Linked DNA regions of Homo sapiens: region 2 is linked to region 1. Evidence: promoter capture Hi-C in human tissues and cell types (Jung and others, 2019). All regions are on one chromosome and are shown on one strand. Each heading gives the region's core, a stretch centred on a gene start or on the middle of the fragment in contact. The rest is flanking DNA. Distances are from core to core; before and after follow the strand shown. Region 1 holds the start of GPR158 (G protein-coupled receptor 158). Region 2 overlaps ARHGAP21 (Rho GTPase activating protein 21).

Evidence for each region. Contacts are between HindIII fragments. The study calls those that stand out against the background at their distance.
Region 2: a contact is called between a fragment that was not itself captured here and the fragment with the promoter of GPR158 in region 1, in 1 of the 25 tissues and cell types used here (dorsolateral prefrontal cortex).

The regions. Positions count from the first base shown.
Region 1 is chr10:25,173,408-25,177,384 of GRCh38, forward strand. GPR158 (G protein-coupled receptor 158) reads left to right here and starts at 1,594. Exons shown (of 11, transcript NM_020752.3): 1 at 1,594-2,915. The coding sequence starts at 2,014. It overlaps GPR158-AS1 (GPR158 antisense RNA 1), which reads right to left and starts at 2,869. Exons shown (of 2, transcript NR_027333.2): 1 at 2,269-2,869. The HindIII fragment of the contact is 11,687 bases long and covers 1-3,977 here.
Region 2 is chr10:24,622,244-24,626,374 of GRCh38, forward strand. ARHGAP21 (Rho GTPase activating protein 21) reads right to left here. Exons shown (of 26, transcript NM_020824.4): 8 at 490-519. Among named protein-coding and RNA genes, the nearest start is that of ARHGAP21, 100 kb to the right of the region's middle. The HindIII fragment of the contact is 4,722 bases long and covers 1-4,131 here.

The DNA.
Region 1 (3,977 bases), core at 344-2,843:
TCTCTTCTTGGGTGAGGAGATTGATTTTTAAGTTAGCTTCATCATCATGATCTTCCCATTCATTCACTAATTTAGCAACTATTTAGCCAGAGCCTACTATGTGCCAGGTAGTGTTCTGGGTGCTCAAGGTACCTCAGTGACCAATGCAGACAAAGATTTTTGCTCTTTTGGAGCTTACATTCCAGTCCTTAAGTATTTTCTCAATAGGAAGGATGACATGAAATAGTACAGTGAATCTAAGCAGTGCCTGCTTAGAATGCCATGAGGGACATTTTTGTTAGTTGGGAATTAAAGTAAGTTGGATATTTTCTATTTGTGTCTTTCTTGGGGAATTTGAAAATAGAGGTGCATATGGAAAGTGGAGCTAGCTGTGCAAAACACTACTTTTCTGGTACCAGTCTACTTTTGGAGTGTCAGAAGACACTTAAATTCTCTAATAAGCGTCAAAACATCAATTAGATTGTGTTAAGAAATTTACCAATAATTTGGGGGACTTGGCATACTTGCTCAGTTCTTCTTTCTTCTGCTGGGATATCCCAACCTTTAGCTAAATAGAAGTCTTAGTTCTTATCTCTCAATTCCAGGAACTCCCAGTCAGGATGATTTCCCTTCTCACTCAACACAGGCTCCTTCTCATTCTCCCAGAGCTCATGAGTCCTCCCCCTTGCTCTCTCCCTTACACATCTTTACTTGCATACATTTTTACACGTTCCCCTCCATTCTGGCCCCCAAGCAGAGATTCCTTAAATATGACTTTTTTTTCTCTCCTTAAAGCACAGCTGGTAGATTTCTCCATTACTCCCTCAGCTAAGATGAGCCTAGACAAGTATGTTTTAATCATTTCTTTAACTGACAACAAGAAAGATGATTTGATAATTTGCCTAAAATGAGCAGATGCTCAGGAGGACACGTCTCCATCCTATGTCCCTTCTGTCTAATTTCACCTAGAAATGAAAACTACTCCCTTCTCCCTCTTTTCCAGGCAAAAGGCTGATTTAACTAAGCATGCAAGACGCCAACACCCTCCCCCTCAGTACGTCCAAGTTTCCTTCGCTCTGAGCCACCGAATCTCTGCTTCTCCCCCCTCTGCCGCCCACCCTACGCCACCCACGCAGGTTTCCGAGTCATCCGGAACGCGAGTGGGTGCGAGGACTCGGCAGGCTGCCTCCCGCGCCCCCGCCGCCCGCGGGCCGCCTCGGGTTCAGCACTGGACAGCTCCCTCCCCGGCCCCACAAATGGCAGTCGGCTGATTGACAGAGGAGCCGACCAAACAGGGAACAAGACGACTTGCAGCCGCCCTACAAGGGTTTGGTTGCGGCCAAGCTGCCTCTTTAAACTGGCTTTCCTCCCCCGAGGAGGGAGCAGGGAGAGAGGGTGGAGTGTGGTTTGCGGCCAAACCTAAAGGCTGCAATTAACCAGCCGCCCGGCCTTCGCTACTCCGGACAGACGAACGTCTTAAAGGACGTCTTCGCTCCTCGGGAGTCGCGGCTGCGCTCGCGGTGCGGGTCTGGGCGCGCGCCCCGCGCCTCCGGGCGAAGCGGTCGAGGAGGAGCCAGTGCCGGGAGGCGGGAACGACCTGCGGCGGGTGAGACTATGGAGCAGCGTCTTCGGCGGCCGCGGCGGCAGCAGCAGCAGCAGCTTCTGAACGCGCCTCAATGAGAGCGGCGGTGGCGGCAGCCGGGCCGAGAGACGGACTCGGGCTGACTCCAGCCGCTGGGAGCGCGAGGCCATGTAACCCGCTCGGCTCCAGGCTGCGAGGTGCGTAATCCCCAGCCGGCCCCTCGCGCAGCGGGCACGGCCAGCGCTGCCACAGGTGACTTGATTTCTGCGACGGTAGCTTAGCCACCCGGGGCCAATCTCGAAACATTCTTATTTTCAAGTCCTTTGGACTGGGTGCCATCTGGAGAAGGGGGAAGACTCCTCGAAAAAGTCTGACTGTTGAGAAACTGACGATCCAAATTTAAAAAGTGATTCCCCCCCCTCCCGTTCCCTCCTCTTCTCTCTGGGAGGCAGATGGGAGCCATGGCTTACCCCTTACTCCTCTGCCTCCTGCTTGCTCAGCTGGGATTGGGAGCTGTTGGCGCCAGCCGCGACCCCCAAGGACGGCCGGATTCCCCTCGAGAGAGGACCCCGAAGGGGAAGCCGCACGCCCAGCAGCCGGGTCGAGCCTCTGCCTCGGACTCCTCGGCTCCCTGGAGCCGCTCCACCGATGGCACCATCTTGGCGCAGAAACTCGCCGAGGAGGTGCCCATGGACGTGGCCTCTTACCTCTACACCGGGGACTCCCACCAGCTGAAGCGAGCCAACTGCTCCGGCCGCTACGAGTTGGCGGGCCTGCCGGGGAAGTGGCCAGCCCTGGCCAGCGCGCACCCCTCCTTGCACCGGGCGCTGGACACACTGACACACGCCACCAACTTCCTCAACGTGATGCTGCAGAGCAATAAGTCGCGGGAGCAGAACTTGCAGGACGACCTGGATTGGTACCAGGCGCTGGTGTGGAGCCTTCTGGAGGGCGAGCCCAGCATCTCCCGGGCGGCCATCACCTTCAGCACCGATTCGCTGTCCGCACCGGCCCCACAGGTCTTCCTCCAGGCCACGCGCGAGGAGAGCCGCATCCTGCTCCAAGACCTGTCCTCCTCCGCACCCCACCTGGCCAACGCCACTCTGGAGACCGAGTGGTTCCACGGCCTCCGGCGCAAGTGGAGGCCCCACTTACACCGCCGCGGCCCCAATCAGGGGCCCCGGGGCCTGGGCCACAGCTGGCGGCGCAAGGACGGGCTCGGCGGGGACAAGAGCCACTTCAAGTGGTCTCCGCCTTATCTGGAGTGCGAGAACGGGAGTTACAAGCCCGGGTGGCTGGTTACTCTTTCCTCTGCCATCTACGGGTTGCAGCCTAACCTGGTCCCGGAATTCAGGTAGGGAGGGCCGGGGGGCAGGGGGGAAGGCAAAAGCGAAGCTTTCCTTCCGGTCTTGTGGGTGGGTGCACGTGTGAGGAAGGAACCCTTGGCTGTGACGCGAACGCTTCTCACCCTCAGAGTAGAGACCCGGGCTGAGGGACACCCCACGCGGGCGCGGGTGCTTGGGGGCAAGAAGCGCCCCACGCCCGTCAGCTTCCGGCGCTCGGCGAAAGCCATTCATTCTCTCGGACCAGTTTCCCCGCACTGGGCGAGGGACAGGCAGCCCTTGGCAGGACGGAGACACCCCCGCTGCTCTGTGCTTCCCTCCAATTGTCCGGAGAGCAGGGAGGGGCGTTCCCCACCGGGGGGCGATGCGACAACTTGGCGAGCGCCGGGTGTGTCCGCGGAGTGGCAAGCCTCAGATGAGAGGCGAAAAGGGAGCAGGAGGAACAGAGAGTTCCTTGTTTCTGCCACTTTGGGGTAGCCTCTGCCTGCTTCCTACGTGTGCAGTTGGGGGCACCGGTCTGTTGTTAGTCAGAGCTTATAATTAAAACTGTGCCATCTCCTCGCAGTTCCGGCCCCTCAGCAGTGAGTCAGTCCCAGCAGCTAGCTGTCTCTGGGATCCAGACTTTGCAGCTTGGTCAGGGTGCTCCTTCTACCGGTCTCCCCTCTCCCCGCAATTGATCTTTCCTTCCTCGGTGGCCTTTTCCTCCTCTTCCCTGTCTTAGGCATACTTAAGGGTTCTCCAGCCCTTCACACACTCACATGATTTATAAAAGGACCTAGTTATATTCGGGAGGGAGGCATCAGTTGTGACTGAATTCACTCAAGGAGGCTGGAGGAAACTTAAGGGAGTCTGTACTTCCTGTCTCAAACTATAGCATTTGAGGGAAGCAGAGAATTTGCAAATTAACAGGTTTTAACTTCTGCCTGGGAAGTGCCTGACCTTTGAGGCGGGGAATTTCTAGAAGCAACCTTTAAGAGTAGATGTGAGGAAGGAACTGAAAGAGTAGTTACACCAAAGAGGGCTTAGGAGAGGGCCCAAGATGAACTGAGATCTTCCCTTAGTCCCATGAGGGA
Region 2 (4,131 bases), core at 690-3,189, 550 kb before region 1:
GCAACACAGGGACTATGTTCAGCATCTGAGACAGATGTGGTAACACATCTTCCCCTAATCAAAACAAGCTTAACTCAAGACTATCATCACATCCTGCTCTTTGCATTCGACAGCTTGCAAAGCTCAAGTGCAGCCACAAACGTAACAGCAAAGTAGTAGTGACAGGAAGAGGGTGAGATACTTAAAAAACATATATATATATATATATATATATATATATATATATATATATATATATATATACTGATGCAGATAAATATTACGCTGTAGCATCAGTTATGTACAGGATACAAAAGAAAACCAAACATAAAAATAAAAAATAAGGATGGCAAACCATCTATCACAAACGTATTCTGCAAATTAGTAAGATTAACACGATAGAGGGATTTCTCTAAGCAAAAGTGAACAGTTTTTAATAGATTGGCTTATTACAAATCTCTACAAAACATGACTTAAAAAGCAAGGAAATGGCTACTGTGCATTTCTTACCAGTGCTGTGACATCCTTTGTAAACTGTAGCTAGCAGAAAATAGGAAAACATAGTAGAAGCTGCTTACTGATATAAAGACAAAATCATGTTGTCATATTGATGCTGGAAACGGCAAGCTAAAAATACATCTATACTTGTTTCTCTGGAAGGTACCAAGAGAGGTAAAGGGCAGTGAAGCATAAAGAATAACTCCAGTATTCTTCTGAACATCTTTTTCTCAGGCTTTTATCTGATTCTTGTTTGATGTGTCTACCATTCTTGAAAGCAAAATACATCTGGTGACATGCATTCCTAACAGATATTTTCTTCAATATGCACTGCTGTCTGATAACATGCTACAAAGCTTCCCTCCACGAAAGCAACAGTGATGTCTCTCATTTCCCCCCAGCTTCTTCCATCTCTGCTTCCAGATGACGAAACGAATGCTCTATTATGCATTTAAAATAGTACAACCTCCTCCTTCCCCAGTAAATCAGAGCATAACCACAAGCTGTCAGCAGACTGCAGCTGCCTTTACACTAAGATTCAGGGGGGAAAATGACTTCTTTTAAGTAAGTTTCACTCAAAAATTAAGATCTTTCAACACTGTGCCTTTTGTACTATTGTATTAGTTTGCAAAAATAACTACTGGATAGACATAAAAATATTACTTCCAGAGTAATTCTTGTTAACCTATAATAAATATTATAGAACAGAGACTAGAATGCAGTGACAAATTAAAGCTAGCCATATAAAATAAAATATGTCTACATAGTATTTTTATGGCATGAATACAGTTAATCCCAACATGCATTTTGGGTGTGTGCATTGACACACCAAGTCTATCTTTTCCATGCTGATTAGAATCATACCAATACTTTTCTGCAATAGGAAAATTGTGTCTGGATGAGAGAATACTGTACTGTCTGGTACAGCATTTCCCACAACATCCTTGTGTAGTTTTATTATATACCACCTGAAAAGGAGGATGGGGGAGAGGAGGTCCCTATGGTCAATGATGTAGGGCCACTTGGCAAGCTTTTTGATTTCTCAAAACCACGACGACACTAATGTACATTGTGAAATTCGAAAGGAAAATATAAACTTATTCACCATGGAGGCCATTTTTTTCCCAGAGGTTTTAACATAATTAGAATATCTACTTGGGTAATGCTATTCTAGAACTAATATTTTAAAGATGACTCCTTTATTCAAATTTGGGAAGAAATATTACTGTTTAGTAATAGAAGTATACGGCTGGAACTATTAAAACTTGAGAATATTTTACATACTTCAGACATCTCTAATATTCCTGTATGGCAATTCTAAATGCTAAATAGTCTACATTACAGTCACAGGTCCCCACTTCTGAGTTAAGTTATCACAAGGGGCCCTGAAATCCATACAAATGCAGGCATTAACAGTGAACATCTCACACATGCAGTACTATTATCTAATGTAAGCAGATATGGTTGAGATAAAATATGAATTCATTCAAGAACATTTTTCACAAAATGTACATTGTGAAACTCAAAAGTACAAACTTACTCGCCAGGGAACCCATTTTTTTCCCCAGAGATTTTAAAATAATTAGAATATCTGCCTGGGAAATGCTGTTCTAGAACTTTTTTTTTTTTTTTTTTTTGAGACCGAGTCTCACTCTGTTGCCCAGGCTGGAGTGCAGTGGCGCAATCTTGGCTCACTGCAACCTGTGCCTCCCAGGTTCAAGCAATTCTCCTGCCTCAGCCTCCTGAGTAGCTGGGATTACAGGCATGAGCCACCATGCTCAGCTAATTTTTGTATTTTTAATGGAGGTGGGGTTTCACTATGTTCGCCAGGTTGGTCTCGAACTCCTGACCTCAAGTGATCCACCTGCCTCGGACTCCCAAAGTGCCAGGATTACAGGTGTGAACCACCGAGCCCGGGTAGAACTAATATTTTAAAGCTATCTCCTTTATTCAAATTTGGGGAGGAATATTATTTTTGAAACCAATGTCATAAGAATTACATATTCAGTATTAACAATTTTGAATTTTAGTTAGGCTTTAAGCCCAAATGGATACTTTACAACATATGAAAGTGTTTTGATAGAATCAGACAACATTTAAATTTTTCCCAATTTACTAGCTCTTGTGAATTCAACAGAATATGACAAAACATTTTTAGCCATTTTTTCCACTCAGCCTTTTTGTATACCACTTCACATTCCTTCTTGAGCTTTCTTTACCCTTGTACTTAAGTATTACACCTTTTGGAGTTTAACAGCTTGTATTTTAAAAACTGAAGCCTTCCCTAACAGCCCTGTTTTGCCTATTAGATACAAAAAGCTCTAAAAAGTGGGGGGGGGGGGGGAGGAGGAGGAGGAAGAAAATAAGAAAGATGACCCAAAGAATTCTTTCTTTGTAATTAGAACTCCAAACAGTATGTTAAATACAACTTAATATTAACAGCCTGGATCTTGATTATATGTACAATGCCTAATAGTAACTAAATAACCCTAAAATAATCTCTAGTTCATTTTTTATACAGTCACATCAAAATCACCATGACCATACCTATGATAAATGGTAAACAAAATGAAACAGAGAAAAAAAAAAAAAAAAAAAAAAAACCTGAAGAATAAATAAGGTGGTAAGATTAAAATTCCTGCCTTTCAGTTCACCTTTAACAGGTTATTAATTTAATGCCTTTACCTATGATAAAAGCAAGAGTAACTTCATGTTTGTTGGTAGATGCCAACCATGCCAGCATAGGGAATGGGAGAAGGGGATGGTGTAGATGGAGAAGGACTTTCTTTTTATTATACCTTTCTGCATTATTTCAAATATTTTCAACCAGCACATACTATTCTTGTAATTATTTAAAAATAGATTTTAAAAAATTACAAAGTAAACTGCTGCTAACCTGCAAAATATGAAAGAACCCTCCAGAATTCATACTCTTGCTTCCCTCACTCTAGGCCGGACCACCTACATGTACACTTGACAAATGGCTACTTAAATAGGATATTGTACTGATAATAGAACACATGAAATGCTTATTTTAAAAGTAATTCTAATAAACTTCAAGAAAAACTTAGTTTAAATTACATTTTTCAAATTATCACATATCCATAGAGCAGCAAAAAAGAACACTGGACTCAGAACCCAGAGGTTCACGTTGTAATAACAGCTCCAACACCAACTGGCAGGGTGACTTATGGTAAGCCACCTAAACAGTTCATCTCCACTCAACAGCAGTATAGGACTGTGGTTTAGAGTACAGGCTTTCATCTCAGACCCGCCCGAGTTCAAATCCTTATACCATTTGCTTTCTTCCTTATTATACCAGACATGCTGTTTAACTTTGCTGTGTTTAACATAGAACAGCATAAAGTAGGTTTAAAATGTCCTGGCCAAATATTAGTTATACCCAAGAATCTCCAGAGTTATAAAAACCGATTAACTTAAAATTTAATCTTTGAGTCAATGGAGCCAAATGCTTAACAAAGTATCCTGGGTGATGAACCAAGAAGTATGCCCCGATCTAGTTCTCCTACCACTATCTCACTCAGGGAAGTATTCTCTTTGGTCAGTGCTACGGTCTGAATGTTTGTGTGTTCCCCTCCCCTAATTCGTATGTTGACACTTAATCACCAGTGTGAATGAGTTAGGAGATGGGGC